Linked DNA regions of Homo sapiens: region 2 is linked to region 1. The links are contacts of gene promoters, found by promoter capture Hi-C in blood cells and fetal thymus (Javierre and others, 2016). All regions are on one chromosome and are shown on one strand. Each heading gives the region's core, a stretch centred on a gene start or on the middle of the fragment in contact. The rest is flanking DNA. Distances are from core to core; before and after follow the strand shown.

Region 1 (7,204 bases), core at 1,782-4,281:
TATTGAAATTTCAATTGCTATTGAGCAAAATTTTCTGACGTGCAGACCAAAAAAAAAAGCAAATCTACATAAGAAATATCTTCTTCTAGGGAATGTAAAAAATGTAAAGTTCAAAGCTGAAGTTGATGCCATAATCGGAACAATTATCAAAGGTCAGCAGAGTTAGAAGCAACCTAAGAAATTATCCAGATCACTACTCTCTTTTACATAAGAAAGCCAAGGCATACCAAAAGCATGCCTATTAGGCTGAGAATAAATTTCAAATTTATGGAGCAGATATAGGCAAAATTAGATCAATACTGGTACCAGAATACGTTTTAAAACATGCAAACTAAGCTTAATAAATCTAAGTACTTACATTAAGAAGTAATTCATCTTTTGTTTTAAGAGGAAAATTCTTATTTTCCTTCTCAATTTGTAAATCATCATCTCCATCTGACAGCACTGGAGGAAGTGATATACAAGAGGAAGAAGACGACGATGAGGAAGATGAAGAGGAAGACGATGAACTTGAACTATCTGAATCTGTTTCACTGTAGGGAAGAAAACAGTTAAAAAAATAGTCCAGTATTATTATACTAATATTAAAATAAGATTATTCAATTAAGAAATATCAACTTTAATACAAGTTTACTATTGCTTATTCTAATATTAAAATAAGATTATGCAATTAAGAAATATCAACTTTACTACATGTTTACTACTGCTGTTCTAATTCAAAACTAGCACTTCAAAACTGATATGGTATTGGGAAAGTAGTATTTAGTTTACCAATAACATTTTCAAACCTTTGCCATAACCCAGATCCTCTTATTACAATACTCTCACATATCATACACCTGTCTGAATATAAGCAAGCATGTGACAAACCACTAAAAAAAGGGAATTCTGGGCATGGCACCTCTCTTAGTCACAACCACCAGATCGCTTAATTGCCAGATTGCTTAATGAGTTTCTTCTCAGGCTACAGACAACTTGGGAAATCCTCAGTTACGAAAGTATGTAGACCATTCTACTTTCTGAAAACTCACTTGGTCCTTATCTTCCACAGAAATTATCGTTAACAGCAACCACTGTCTCAGTTTAAATTTTGTTTGTTGGCTCCCCACTTGAAGCCCTTTTATATACTATTTTTAAGGGTTCCATCCTCACTTTCTCTTCTTTCGCTACTACTTTCATGGATAATCCCATACACATTAATGATTTCAGTCATCATCCATGTGAATTAACGCCTAAATCTTCAGCTATGACATCTCTAAACTCCATGTCCAATCTCTGACGGCATACTGGCCACCTTTGTACGAATGGCCTATACACCCACACTCATAGCAAGTTAAAACAAGAAAAAGTGCATTATACTAACTAAACCTGCTTCTTCAGTTTCCATTTGATTTCACTGCTGTTAACTGGCAAAAAGTTGTACCCCTTTTGACTTCTTCAAATATTTGGTATCCTCTGCCATCACCCACAGAGTCAGAAGTAGTATCCTGACACTAAGTTGGCCTATTATGACGCCATATCCCTTCTGCTTTCAAAACGTATCCCCAAATCATCTACCATTTACTTTTCTTTGCTAGTAAAATGAGCTCTGAAATCCCACAAGATGATTATACTGCAATCTTAGTACTGCCAAGAAATCCAACCTTGTTTACAGTTGTTACTTCCCCCTCCCAGTACATTTCATACCCTCTCCTTCTACTCAAATCCTTCAGCCTTCTTCACTTCCACTCTCCGCTGATGACTTCCCTGAAAACTAAACTTCTCACCTCCTCAACACGTGTCTATCTTGTTAACCTGTTCAGTACCCCACTCAACACACTCAACTATTTGTAGACAATGTTCAGTGTGGTTTAGTAACATCCCACATGCTGGAGTCCTCTCCAGCCCAGAGATTTCATATTTAAAAGACAGGTGTGGGGGCAAGGGGGAAAGGCTCTCACAAAACGTAAGAAGCATAAGATACTACTAAATAACACTGTTTGGCTACTTTCATAAACACGTGTTCCCTGCAAGGATTCTATAAATTAACGTAATCATCAAGAGCCAGCTTTGAAACACAAAAAATAATACTTTTCCTGATCCCCAATGTATGTGGTTCAAAAAACAAAGCCTAGATGTGATGATAAAAAAAAATCAGATCTGACACAAAACTCAACTATAACCACAAAAGTACAGCCTAAACTGAGTAGTTACGGAAATAACCTAAGATCCTCGGGTTTTCTAAAGTCTAACAAAAAATGATACGATCTATACATAGAACCCTTCAGGCCACCAAATTTAGGAAATAAGTCAGTACTAAGCTCAGATTCACAACGCGACCTGCTTTGAGAGGCAGCGAATAAGGGGCAGTCGGAGCCAATACTTCAACACGTGAGCCCGGAGCACCAACGACCTGCCCACCCTCCAGGGCCCACACAAGCAACCTCTAGGCTCCTAGGCCCCAGCCACCCCCGCCCGTCATACAAGACCTCTCCCCACAGCTCCGGGTCCCTTAGGCACCCGACCTGTCCGAGTCCGAATCCGAGTCCGAGGTCTCCAAGGAGTCCGGCGCCCGCGCAGGCTCTGCGGCTCCTGGGGAGGTGACGCAGTCTCCGCAGGCCGGCGATTCAGCCGGTGGCTGTGGCTGCGGCGCCGGGGTCCCGGCCGCGACGGCGTTCAGAACGGGCTGCAGAGGCTGCTCCCCGGCAGGCTTAACCTCCACGGTCTGCCCAGCGTCCGGGGACCCCTCAAACGACTGTAGCGGCGGCTGTGTCCCTGGCACAGGGGCAGAGCCCGGAGACGGAGCCGCCGGACCTTCCCCAACTCCAAAGTCGGTGCCATTGAATTTCAGAGTTTCCAGCTGAGCGGCGGCGGCCTCCACTACCTCCATCGCACCGCGCCAGAAACCGGGTCGGCCTCAGGATTGGGGCCCCTGGACAAGCTCACGGCTCTCTCCAGAAATAGAAAAACAACTTAGGCAACCGCAGCAACACTGCCTGGGCCCAACTTCCCGCGTTTCTCAGGTAACTACACGCGGAGGAGCCAAAAGACACGCCCCCGCCATTTACGCAGCAACGCTTTCCGAAGAGCGTGTGACGTATGTGGCGCGACGGCGCGACGGCGCTCGCGGGGGCAGGATACATGCGTCATATCTTCGAAAATCAGGATTAGGGGGTCGGGCGCCGTGGCTCACGCTCGTAATCCCAGCACTTTGGGAGACCGAGGTGGGCGGATCACAAGGTCAGGAGTTCACAGACCAGCCTGCCCAACATGGTGAAACCCCATCTCTACTAAAAATACAAAAATTAGCTGGGCATGGTGGCGCGTGCCTGTAATTCCCACTACTTGGGAGGCTGAGGCAGGAGAATCGCTTGAACCCAGCAGGCGGAAGTTGGAGTGAGCCGAGACCGCGCCACTGCACTCCAGCCTGGCGAGAAAGCGAGACTCCGTCTCAAAAAAAAATAATCAGGACTAGGGAGGCCCTAAATCGACCGTTTTCACTGCGTCATGTGAACCATTCAAGGCCTGAATGTCGGATTTTCCTATTGCTGCATGTGAACCAATTCTGCTTGAAGCGCCAAAATGAAGCAGGGATTATACAACAGGGGGGTGCCTGAAGAATGCTAAGTTCTGTACATCAGAAACTTGAGCCAGGAAGTCTTGACAAGACGCTAGTAACTTCATGAAAGTTAAATGAAGTTTATCCATCAATAGATCCATCTGTCGATAGATAGGGTATTAACCATTTTTTCAAAAATGTAACTACAACTATTCCATTTTCCTTTCTCCAAAGTACCCTCAAAGAGAGCAGTAATGGACAAAATTTTGCTGTGTTGTTCATGTTATGGTGATGTCTATATCATACTTAGCACTGTTTCGTAGTAGAGAGATGAGACTATGAGACTGAAATGTACTCACTTATTGTTGGAAACCACTAGTCTAAATTGTGGAGAAAGCAAGCAGAGTTCTTAGGACTGAGGAAGAGATCAGAATTTTCTGGTTTCCTATTAGGTCTTCAGTTTGAGGCATCAGTCCCTGTGTAGTAATAATAATCATTGATACCATTTGTTAAACATGCATATGTGCCAAGGACTGTGCTAAAGATTTTATAAATTATTCACTGAGAATTTAGTGTGTCATCTACAACAGTAGATCTTCATAGAAATGCAAGGCAAGTGTAATAAGAGTAAGGTTTTAAGAAGCTTACAATCTACTTGAAGTAGAGAAGGGCAATGCACAGGAGATAACTAGAAAAATATTTGAAATATGAAATAGAAAATCCAAGTGCAGCAGAAATGGGAAGTAGGATTGGTAGGCTATTTCATGGAAATCCTCCAAAGTGAAGAAGGACTTTAAACTTGGGATACGAACTTACTAGCACAATGATTAAGCAGAGCTCAGAGTTTTCAACTAAAAAGACCTGTGTTCAGGCCTCAGCTCTACCATTTTGTGTTTGGTGTTACTGACTTTGGGCAGTTAATCTAAATCCTAATTTCCTTATCTGTAAAATGGAGATAAAAATACTATCTCATTTAGTTCATGTGAGCACTAAGTAAGGCTTTATATAAGGGAGTGGCATGTCATACATTCAGTGTGCAAAAATACTTGGAAAATGGAACAATGCATGAACTCACGAATAAAATATTTAATTAACAATGATCTTGCAAAGACATGCAGTACAGATTTGAGAAGGGAAGACGTTTGAGCCAGAATTATTCCCCAGCCAGCCACTTTGTTGCATTTTTCCAGGAATTAGGTGATAAAAGTCTGAACTAGGCTTACAGTCAATGAAATAGAGTAAAGGACATCCCCAGCATCAGGGGAAGAATAAAAGTACTCTAAAATTTCTGGTCAAGGAAATTAGAAAGAAGTTGGTATTACCAATAAAAACGGAGAAGTTGGCCAGTCGCAGGGCCTCACGCCTGTAATTCCAGCATTTTGGGAGGCTGAGGTAGGCAGATCACCTGAGGCCGGGAGTTTGAGACCAGCCTGGCCAACATGACGAAAACCCATCTCTTCTAAAAATACAAAAACTTAGCTGGGCATGGTGGTGGGCACCTGTAATCCCAGCTACTTGGGAGGCTGAGGCAGGAGAATCGCTTGAACTCAGGAGGCAAAGGCTGCAGTGAGCCAAGATTGCACCATTGCACTCCAGCCTAGGCAACAAGAGGGAAACTCCCTCTCAAATTAATTAATTAATTAATTAAACGGAGAAGTTGGAAAGAGATGTGGGTATGTGAAGTTGAGTCTGAAGAAAAACTAGACAATTAAAAATGTAAATAGGCATTTAAAAATAAGAAACTGGAATTTGACAGAAAGGTTAAGACCAGAAGCCTAAGTTATGGGATAATTGAAATACTCATTTGTTCATTCAGTAATCATTTTCTTAACATTACGATATGCTGTGCACTGCATTATAAACTATGCATACAGGAAGATAAACACAGTCCCTACCCTTATGGAGTTAACAGTTCAGTAGAACAGACAAGTTGAAAACAAGCAGAAGGTACTATAGTAGAGAAATGTACCATGTAAATGCAAGAATGTATGAAATGGGAAAACTAAAGACAGAGAAGATACTTGGAAAATTAAGGAAAATGTACTATAAGAGATATATCGTGGCTATAAGAGTAATTATAGCCATAAGGCTCACTCAAGTGTCTTGAGGGGCTGACACTAAATGTATTTATCAATATAATACTAACTGGCCCTGGAGATTTCCACCCCTGGCCCAGTGATTTCCAGGAGACCAGGCCACTTCAGCACAGATGCAACTTTCATGAACCTTAAAGCTTACCCTTGTAAGAATAGCTTCGACTCCATTTATGAGAGAAACATCTGATAACTGACCAAGCTGAATACAGGTTTTAAAAAGGGGGAAGAAACCCCCAACACTGAGAACAGTCTCTGGTTGGAGGCTCTCTTGATCATCCGAGCCCTGACTATCTGGTCTATACCCCCAGCCTCTTCCCACTATCTTTTAAGAGCGATGCCAGAATAAACTACTAAAGCATGAGACAGTCTCTAAGACTCATCTTTGACTTGAATAGAACTGAATGGGAGAAGTCACCTCTAGGAAAGCTGGTTAAACAGGACCACCCAACCACTGCCTCACTGACAATGACAAAAGGCTTTACAATGCGTGTGATACTTGAGCTGGACTTTTAAAGAGAACCATGAATTTGTTAATCTGAGAAAACAGGAGACCTTCACAGGGGATAATAAATAAGATCATTGTAATTTCCTGCTTAATTATTTATAAACTCTAAATATTTGTAAGCACACTTAGAATAAAATTCAGACTCCCTGCTTTGGCTTTCAACAGTCTACCTGATCTGGCCACTACTTACCTCTCCAGTTTCTATCTCCTACCGTCTTCCCCACCCTTGTTTCACATGAGCACTGGTCTTGATCTCCCTTCAACTCACCAAGTTAATTCTTCACGTGTGACATTTTCACTTTTCTGTTCTCTCTTCTCTTCATATTAACGTGGCCTTTTTACTCATTTATGGTTCTACTCAAACACTACACCTAAGAGAGAGCTTTCCAGACCACCCAATCTAAGTGCACCCCTCAATACCAATCACTTCCTAGCTTATAGCTCACTGTTTTTATTTAAATAGTATTTATCTTCACATGAAATTATATTTATTTACTTCTTTATTGTCTGTTTTTTCATAAAATTAAGTCTCAGGTGCCCAGGATCTTTGTCTAATTCACAGCTGTTTCTCTAAGTGCCTGGAAACAGAATAAATCCTATAAGGATTTTTGAATGGATGAATGAAAGAAAGAAAGAATAAAGCTCAATGGGACAATCAGAGTAAGGAATATGACTTAACAGATAATATCTGTTATTCTTTCAATTTAAATTAATCTGATGATATCTAAGAAAGGCTACTGTTTTTAAATAAAAGTCTTTTGTTTGTGTGGTGGAAATGTTTCTGTGTTTCAACATAATGATAGTGGTACCTATGCCTAGCTTTGAAGTAGGTCAGTGTTTCACAAATGGTAATTTTTCTAAGTGCTTGTTTCAGAATGTCCTGAATTTACCTACTTCCACAGCCTTCCTCTCAACCGCATTATTTCTAACAGTTGCTAAACTTAGCCTGAAGTCTTTAACCTAAGACTAAATCCAAAAAAACACCTTGGAAGACTGTGTAGCTTACAGGGTCACTATTAACGTTATGAGAGAATTTACCTTGAATTAAATTACAATTTAAATGGC
Region 2 (7,204 bases), core at 1,454-3,953, 2.0 Mb after region 1:
CCTCCCAAGTAGCTGAGATTACAGGCGTCAGCCACCATGCCTGGCTAATTTTTGCATTTTTAGTAGAGACAGCGTTTCACCATGTTGGCCAGGCTGGTCTTGAACTCCTGACCTCAAGTGATCTGCCCACCTCAGCCTCCCAAAGTGCTGGGATTACAGGCGTGAGCCACTGTGCCCAGCCAGAGATTTTCTATTAAATAAAATAATGCATGTAATGCTCTTTATACAATGTTGTCTCTACAAAGCACTAAGCAAATGTTAGTCATTTTTTGTCTAAATCAGATTTATTAAGGCATTATTAACATACATAATCATTTTTGTTTGTTTTTTGTTTGTAAAGACAGAGTCTCACTATAGGCTGGTCTTGAACTCCTGGTCTCAAGTGATTCTTCTGCCTCGGCTTCCCAAAGTGCTGGGATTACAGGCAAGAGCCACCATGCCAGACCCATTGTTTTAATAATATATTAAAAATATGTTCTCAGCCCATATAATGCTCTAATGACTGTTAAAGCAATTTATATAAGCATAGCCCTGTAAATAAGTTATATTTAAAAAGTATCTGACACTTCATTTTTGTATGACTAAAGATCTTTTGGTGAAGATTCTTGCGTTTATTTACTTATGAGGAGTAAGGAGAGGAGGAGAGAAGCTGTTTTCCTAGTGTTGGGGCTCAGAAGATAATATCGGCTAGGCGCAGTGGCTCACACCTGTAATCCCAGCACTTTGGGGGGCCAAGGCGGGCGAATCACCTGACATTAAGACTTCAAGACCAGCCTGGCCAACAGACGAAACCCCATTTCTACTAAAAATACAAAAATTAGCCAGGCATGGTGGCATGCGCCTGTAATCCCAGCTACTCAGGAGGCTGAGGCAGGAGAATGGTTTGAACCCAGAAGCGGAGATTGCACCACTGCACTCCAGCCTGGGCAACAGAGCAAGACACTTTTCAGATTTAAAAGTTTAAAAATGCAACTAGCCTGGCCAAAATGGTGAAACCCCGTCTCTATCAAAAATACAAAAATTAACCAGGTGTGGTGGTGCGTGCCTGTAGTTTCAGCCACTCAGGAGGCTGAGGCACAAGAATTTCTTGAACCTGGGAGGCAGAGGTTGCAGTGAGCCGAGATCATGCCAGTGCACTCCAGCCTGTGTGACAGAGCAAGACCCTGTCTCAACAACAACAACAAAAAAAAAGAAGAGGATAATATCACAAGTATAGTGCTTTTGCATGCTGAGTACTTGAAGTGAAGGACACATTGGCAGGCCTCAAAAGCCAAGTTTCTCTATGACTTTTGAACAAACAGGCCTTGCTGACCCTGGTACTAAGCATTAAAGTAGATGCTTGTAAATTCTTATCCCTACTCAGTCTATTGTCATTAGATCACCTGTAATCCCAGCTACTCAGGAGGCTGAGGCAGGAGAATTGCTTGAACCCGGGAGGCAGAGGTTGCAGTGAGCCGAGATCGCGCCACTGCACTCCAGCCTGGGTGACAGAGCGAGACTCCCTCTTAAATAAATAAATAAATAAATCTGTTATGCTTTTCTCTTGTTAATCTGGCTTTTGTTATAGGAGTGTCAGCCATGACCTTTCCACCTCTATGCTACCAAACAGTTCACCATTAGAAGATGCTGGACTGAAGCCCCATCTTTCCTGTGTTGTCACCATCAGCATTGTTCCAGGCACCGTGCTCATTCCTGATCACAGATATTAAAATGTTAATAATATCTCATTGATTTTTTTTCAACATCAAAATCTGTCCTTTATTCACTATGATTTCTATTATTCAGCCTGGCATAACGTAACATGCATACAAACAATAGGTACTTAATTGATATTTTTGTTAATTTTAAAGCAGGATCTCTTTACTGATATTGACTTTAATCTGCCTTTGAAATGGATTTATTTATTTATTTATTGAATAAAGATGGGGTCTCACTATGTTGCCAAGGCTGGTCTTGATCTCCTGGGCTCAAGCAGTCCTCCCACCTCGGTCTCCCAAAGTGCTGGGATTATAGGCATAAGCCACTGTGCTCAGCCTAAATTTATTTTTAATCAATAAATAAAAGTTATATATATTTATGATGTTCAACATGATGTTTTGGTATATGGATACATTGCAGAATGATTGAATCAAGCTAATTAATGTATTTACCACCTCCCATACTTATTTTTTTTTTCTTAACTTGCCTTTTAAATAAAATTTTAGAACAAGTTGATCCTAGCTAAATATTTCTACAATTCTCTTAGGCTGCCCTATACCATTGTCAGAAATGAAGATATCCAAAATTCTGTCTTTGGATAATGTTTTGTAGCTAAATCTCTCTTAGGTACTTAGAGAGATGCCATTGAAAAATTCCCTTTCAATGAACAGACAAAAAAAGGAGGTCAATAGTTATTTTAGCATATCAAATTATATTTAGTTTATGTACTTTTTTCTGGAAAAATTTTTTTTTCTAGAAAGAAATTTAAGGATATTGTAAGCAATTGGAAACATTCCAGTTTCCACTTATTTGTTTCGTAAATGTTTGTATCTTTCAAAGCACCTGTACCACAAATAGAGTCCCGTTGTAACCAAACATTCCACATTTGAGTGATAATGGACTCTGTTAGAGGTCTCAGGGCTTGTAAAGTTTCAGGCTTGATATCCAGTACTTGCCCTCTCATTATTGTTTGTTTTCTCCTAAAGTTCTTATGATCTCAAATCCTGGCATTTAAAAGCACACTTATTTTTGAAGGCAGAATTTTGTTTGTTTGTTTGTTTCACTGACTCAGGAGCAGAAAAAAAAGTTTGCTAAAAATCCCAAAAGTAATTCATGTTTGGATAGACACCAAATATGTGAAGTTTCAGACCAAAACCACAATTTCTCTGAAAGGTTTTAGAAAACACATACCGAAACTCAGGGTGAAAATGAATTTTGTAACCTTCATGAAACTCAAGGCTACTACTTAGTGATTATAGAGCTGACCTTGTCTAATCTCCACTCACTCCTGATTCTTCTTTAATGCCAAGTACCAGGCTCAGGCATCCAGCCCAAGCAGTCGGCAGCATTCTCATGGGAGGAACTCCTTATTTCAGAAATAATCAGAAGATGGGGCTTTAAGTGCTTTGTAGTGATATCTCTTTTAATTAAGTTCTAGACAGTTAAGAAGTAAAACTTTTCTTTTACAATACAATTCATAATGCTGTGTGTTGAGGTCTAAAAGAATATTTGAAGGTATCCCCAAATAACTTATAAAATAATTATTTTGATTCTCCACACTGAGCTGAGCAGTAGCTCCCTAATCTGGCTCTGATTCAGTTCCAAACTATATGAGGCTTTACCCTCTTTCAGGAAGCTCACTCTGCTGAGTCTCAGTCTTTGTACAACCGTTCTAGGAATCAAAGGGGCCTAGTTCCTTTCCAACTTGACTTTTATATTTCTTTTAAAAGTAATCCCCAGTTGATGGATTATTTATTTATTTATTTATTTTGAGATGGAGTCTCACTCTGTTGCTGGAGTCCGATGGCAGGATCTCGTCTCACTGCAACCTCCGCCTGCCAGGTTCAAGCGGTTCTCCTGCCTCATCCTTCCAAGTCGCTGGGAATATGGGCACCTGCCACCACGCCCAACTAATTTTTTTGTATTTTTAGTAGAGATGGAGTTTCACCATGATGGCCAGGCTGACCTCAAACTCCTGACCTCAGGTGATCTGACTGCCTCAGTCTCCCAAAGAGCTGGGATTACAGGTGTGAGCCACCGCGCCCGACCTGATGGATAATTTAATAATGATGTTGAGAAAACCCACCAGCCACTTGGAAGAAAAAAAAGCTGAATCACTCCCCATTTCTTTTTCTTTATTTTTTTCTTTTTCTTTTTTTTTGAGACAGAGTTTCGCTCTGTCACCCAGGCTGGAGTGCAGTGGTGCAATCTTGGCTCACTGCAACCTCTGCCTCCCGGATTCAAGCAATTCTCCTGCCTCAGCCTCCAGAGTAGCTGGGATTACAGCTGCGCACCATCACGCCTGGCTAATTTTTGTATTTTTAGTAGAGACGGGTTTCACCATGTTGGCTAGGCTGGTCTCAAACTCCTAACCTCAAGTGATCCGCCCACCTTGGCCTCCCAAAATGCTGGGATTACAGGTATGAGCCATCGCGCCCAGTCTACTCCTCATTTCTTAAACCAAAATTAATTACTAATGATTCAGACTAAAACATAAAAAATAAGTAGTTGGCTGTGATAGCTCATGCTTGTAATCCCAGCACTTGGGAGGCTGAGGCAGGAGGATCACTGGAGCCTGGAGTTCAAGGCTGGAGTGAGCAATGATTACAACACTGCACTCCAGCCTGGGTGACAGAGCAAGACCCTGTCTCACAAAAAAAAAAAAAAAAAAAAATTAAAAGAAAAAAAGGTGAAATCAAACCAACAGAATTTCTAGAAAAAATATTTTAATGTGGTCTTACAATACTTTCCATGCATTACCCCGAATACAAAACAATAAAGAAAAAGATTCAAGAAATTTGACTACATAAAAAGTTTGAAACTTTTGCATAAGAAAAAAGAAAACATAAAGTTAAAATACAAATGACAAATAACTAAAAGCAACATAAATATCCATTATTTAAGGAATGAATAAAAAAACTATGATATCTAAACTTAGAAGACTATTCAACCATTTGAAAAATGAGGTAGATCTACATACACTGGCAAAATAAATAGGCCTTTAATATAATATGTTACAAAAGCAGGTTGCAAAATAATAGCTATGCTATAATTTTATCCATGAAAAAAGAATACAAATATAATGCAAAACCCAACTATTTTCATAGGCAAATGTATGCTATGAAAGTTTACAGAGCCAGAAAAATTAAGCAAGAAAAAGAAATAAATGGTATTCAAATTAAAAAGAAACTTCTAAATCAAGGACCAGAGGAAACAAAATAGGAAGATGTGAAACTATTTCTATTCATAGAAGACATAATGTTAAATCTAAAAAACTCTGGCTGGGCACATTGGCTCACACCTGTAATCCCAGCACTTTGAGAGGCTGAGGAGGGTGGATTGCTTGAGGCTAGGAGTTTGAAACCAGTCTGGGCAACATGGCATAACCTCGTCTCTACTAAAAATACAAAAATCAGCGAGATATGGTGGCACATGCCTGTAATTCCAGCTGCTCAGGAGGCTGAGGCACGAGAATTATTTGAATCCAGGAGGCAGAGGCAGAGGATGCAGTAAGCCAAGATTGTGCACTGCACTCCAACCTGGACAACAGAAAGAGACTCCTTTTCAAAAAAAATAAAAATTAAAAATTAAGAAAATAAAAACCTGAAAGAATTCATGAAAAAACTATTACAGCTAATCAATCAATTCAGAAAAGTTTCAGGATATATAATCAACACAAAACTTGGAAGACTCCTACTTCCTGATTTCAAAACGTACTACAAAGCTACAGTAAGCAAAACAGTATGGTACTGGTGTAAAGATAGACATATAGAACAATAAAATCAATCACAGAAATAAAACCACTCATCTGTGGTCAATTGATTTTCAACAAGGATACAAAGATCATTCAACGGAGAAAGAATAGTCTTCAAGAAGTAGGACTGGGCATGGCGGCTCATGCCTGTAATCCCAGCACTTTGGGAAGCCAAGGCAGGTGGATCACCTGAGGTCAGGAGTTCAAGACCAACCTGGTCAACATAGTGAAACCCCATCTCTACTAAAAAATATATACAAAAATTAGCTGGGCATGGTGGTGCATGCCTGTAGTCCCAGCTACTCAGGAGGCTGAGGCACGAGAATTGCTTGAACCCAGGAGACGGAGGCTGCAGTTAGCTGAGATCACACCACTGTACTCCAGCCTGGGCAACAGAGCTAGAATCCATCAAAAAAAGAAAGAAAGAAAAGAAGAAAGAAAGAGAGAAAGAGAGAAAGAGAGGAAAGGAAAGGAAAAAGAAAAAGAAAAAAAAAGAAATGGTGCTGATAAAACTGGAGATTCACTGGCAAAAGAATGAAGTTGGACCCTATCCTTATACTTTATACAAAAAGGACTCAAACTGGATTAGATATCTAAATTTAAGAGCTAAAACTATAAAGCTGTTAGCAGAAAATATAAGGACAAATCTGCATGACCTTGGATTTGGCAATAGTTTCTTAAATATGACACCAAAAGAACAGACCAAAAAAAAAAAATAAGTAAATTGGACTTAATTAAAATTAAAAGGCCAGGAACAGTGCCTCACACCTGTAATCCCAACATTTTCAGAGGCAGAAGGATCACTTGAGGCCAGGAGTTCAAGACCAGCCTGGTCAACATAGAGAGACCCTCATCGAAAAATAAAAAATTTATAAAAACTTATTTATCTACAAAAAAAATTTTTTAATTAGCCAGTCATGGTGGTACACACCTGTAGTCCCAGCTACTCAGGAGGCTGAAGTGGGAGGATTGCTTGAGTCCAGCAGATGGAAACTAATAAGCTATGATTACACCACTGCACTCCAGCCTGAGTGACAGAGTAAGATCCTGTCTCAAAAAGTTGCATATTATATAATTATATATACAATATTATATATAATTTATATGTATATTTTGAAGCTATGTATATAGTAACAATGAAGCTTGTCATTAAAAAGCATGGGAATTAAAAAAAAAAAAAACAGGAATAGGCCAGGCACAGTGGCTCACGCCTGTAATCCCAACACTTTGGGAGGCCAAGGTGTGTGGATCACCTGAGGTCAGGAGTTCAAAACCAGCCTGACTAATATGGTGAAACCCCATCTCTACTAAAAATACAAAAACTACCTGGGCATGGTGGCACACACCTGTAATCCCAGCTACTCGGGAGGCTGAGGCATGAGAATCACTTGAACCCTGGAGGCAGAGGCCATAATGAGTCAAGATCGTGCCACTGCACTCCAGCTGGGCGACAGAGTGAGACTTTAACAACAATAACAACAACAACAGAAAACACAGGAATAGATTTATATCCATTGATTTATATATGCTGCAAAAAGATATAGCTAAGTTAAAAAAATTAATTTGTAGTTATATATATTTGCTTTTGTATACTTGTGAAAATTTTCTGCAAGAATATATAAAAACCATTAAAGGTTATCTCTACTGAGTAGGACTAAAAATGTAGAAAAATATTTTCATTCCAGTTTAAATTTTTCTGCACTCTGAGATTGTTACCATGTGTGACTTTTCAAACTTTATTTAAAAAATTTT

What was found. The method cuts DNA at HindIII sites, captures the fragments that hold promoters and counts their contacts. A CHiCAGO score of 5 or more calls a contact.
Region 2: a fragment that was not itself captured here is called in contact with the fragment with the promoter of NAF1 in region 1 in 2 of 17 cell types (total CD4 T cells and naive CD8 T cells); the score reaches 6.4 in total CD4 T cells.

What each region holds. Positions count from the first base shown.
Region 1 is chr4:163,163,859-163,171,062 of GRCh38, forward strand. NAF1 (nuclear assembly factor 1 ribonucleoprotein) reads right to left here and starts at 3,032. Exons shown (of 8, transcript NM_138386.3): 1 at 2,505-3,032; 2 at 359-533. The coding sequence starts at 2,869. RefSeq lists enhancers at 2,177-3,044, 2,536-2,615, 2,646-2,765, 2,786-2,985. The HindIII fragment of the contact is 3,845 bases long and covers 335-4,179 here.
Region 2 is chr4:165,115,855-165,123,058 of GRCh38, forward strand. No RefSeq gene overlaps it. Among named protein-coding and RNA genes, the nearest start is that of TMEM192, 6.6 kb to the left of the region's middle. The HindIII fragment of the contact is 7,778 bases long and covers 1-6,592 here.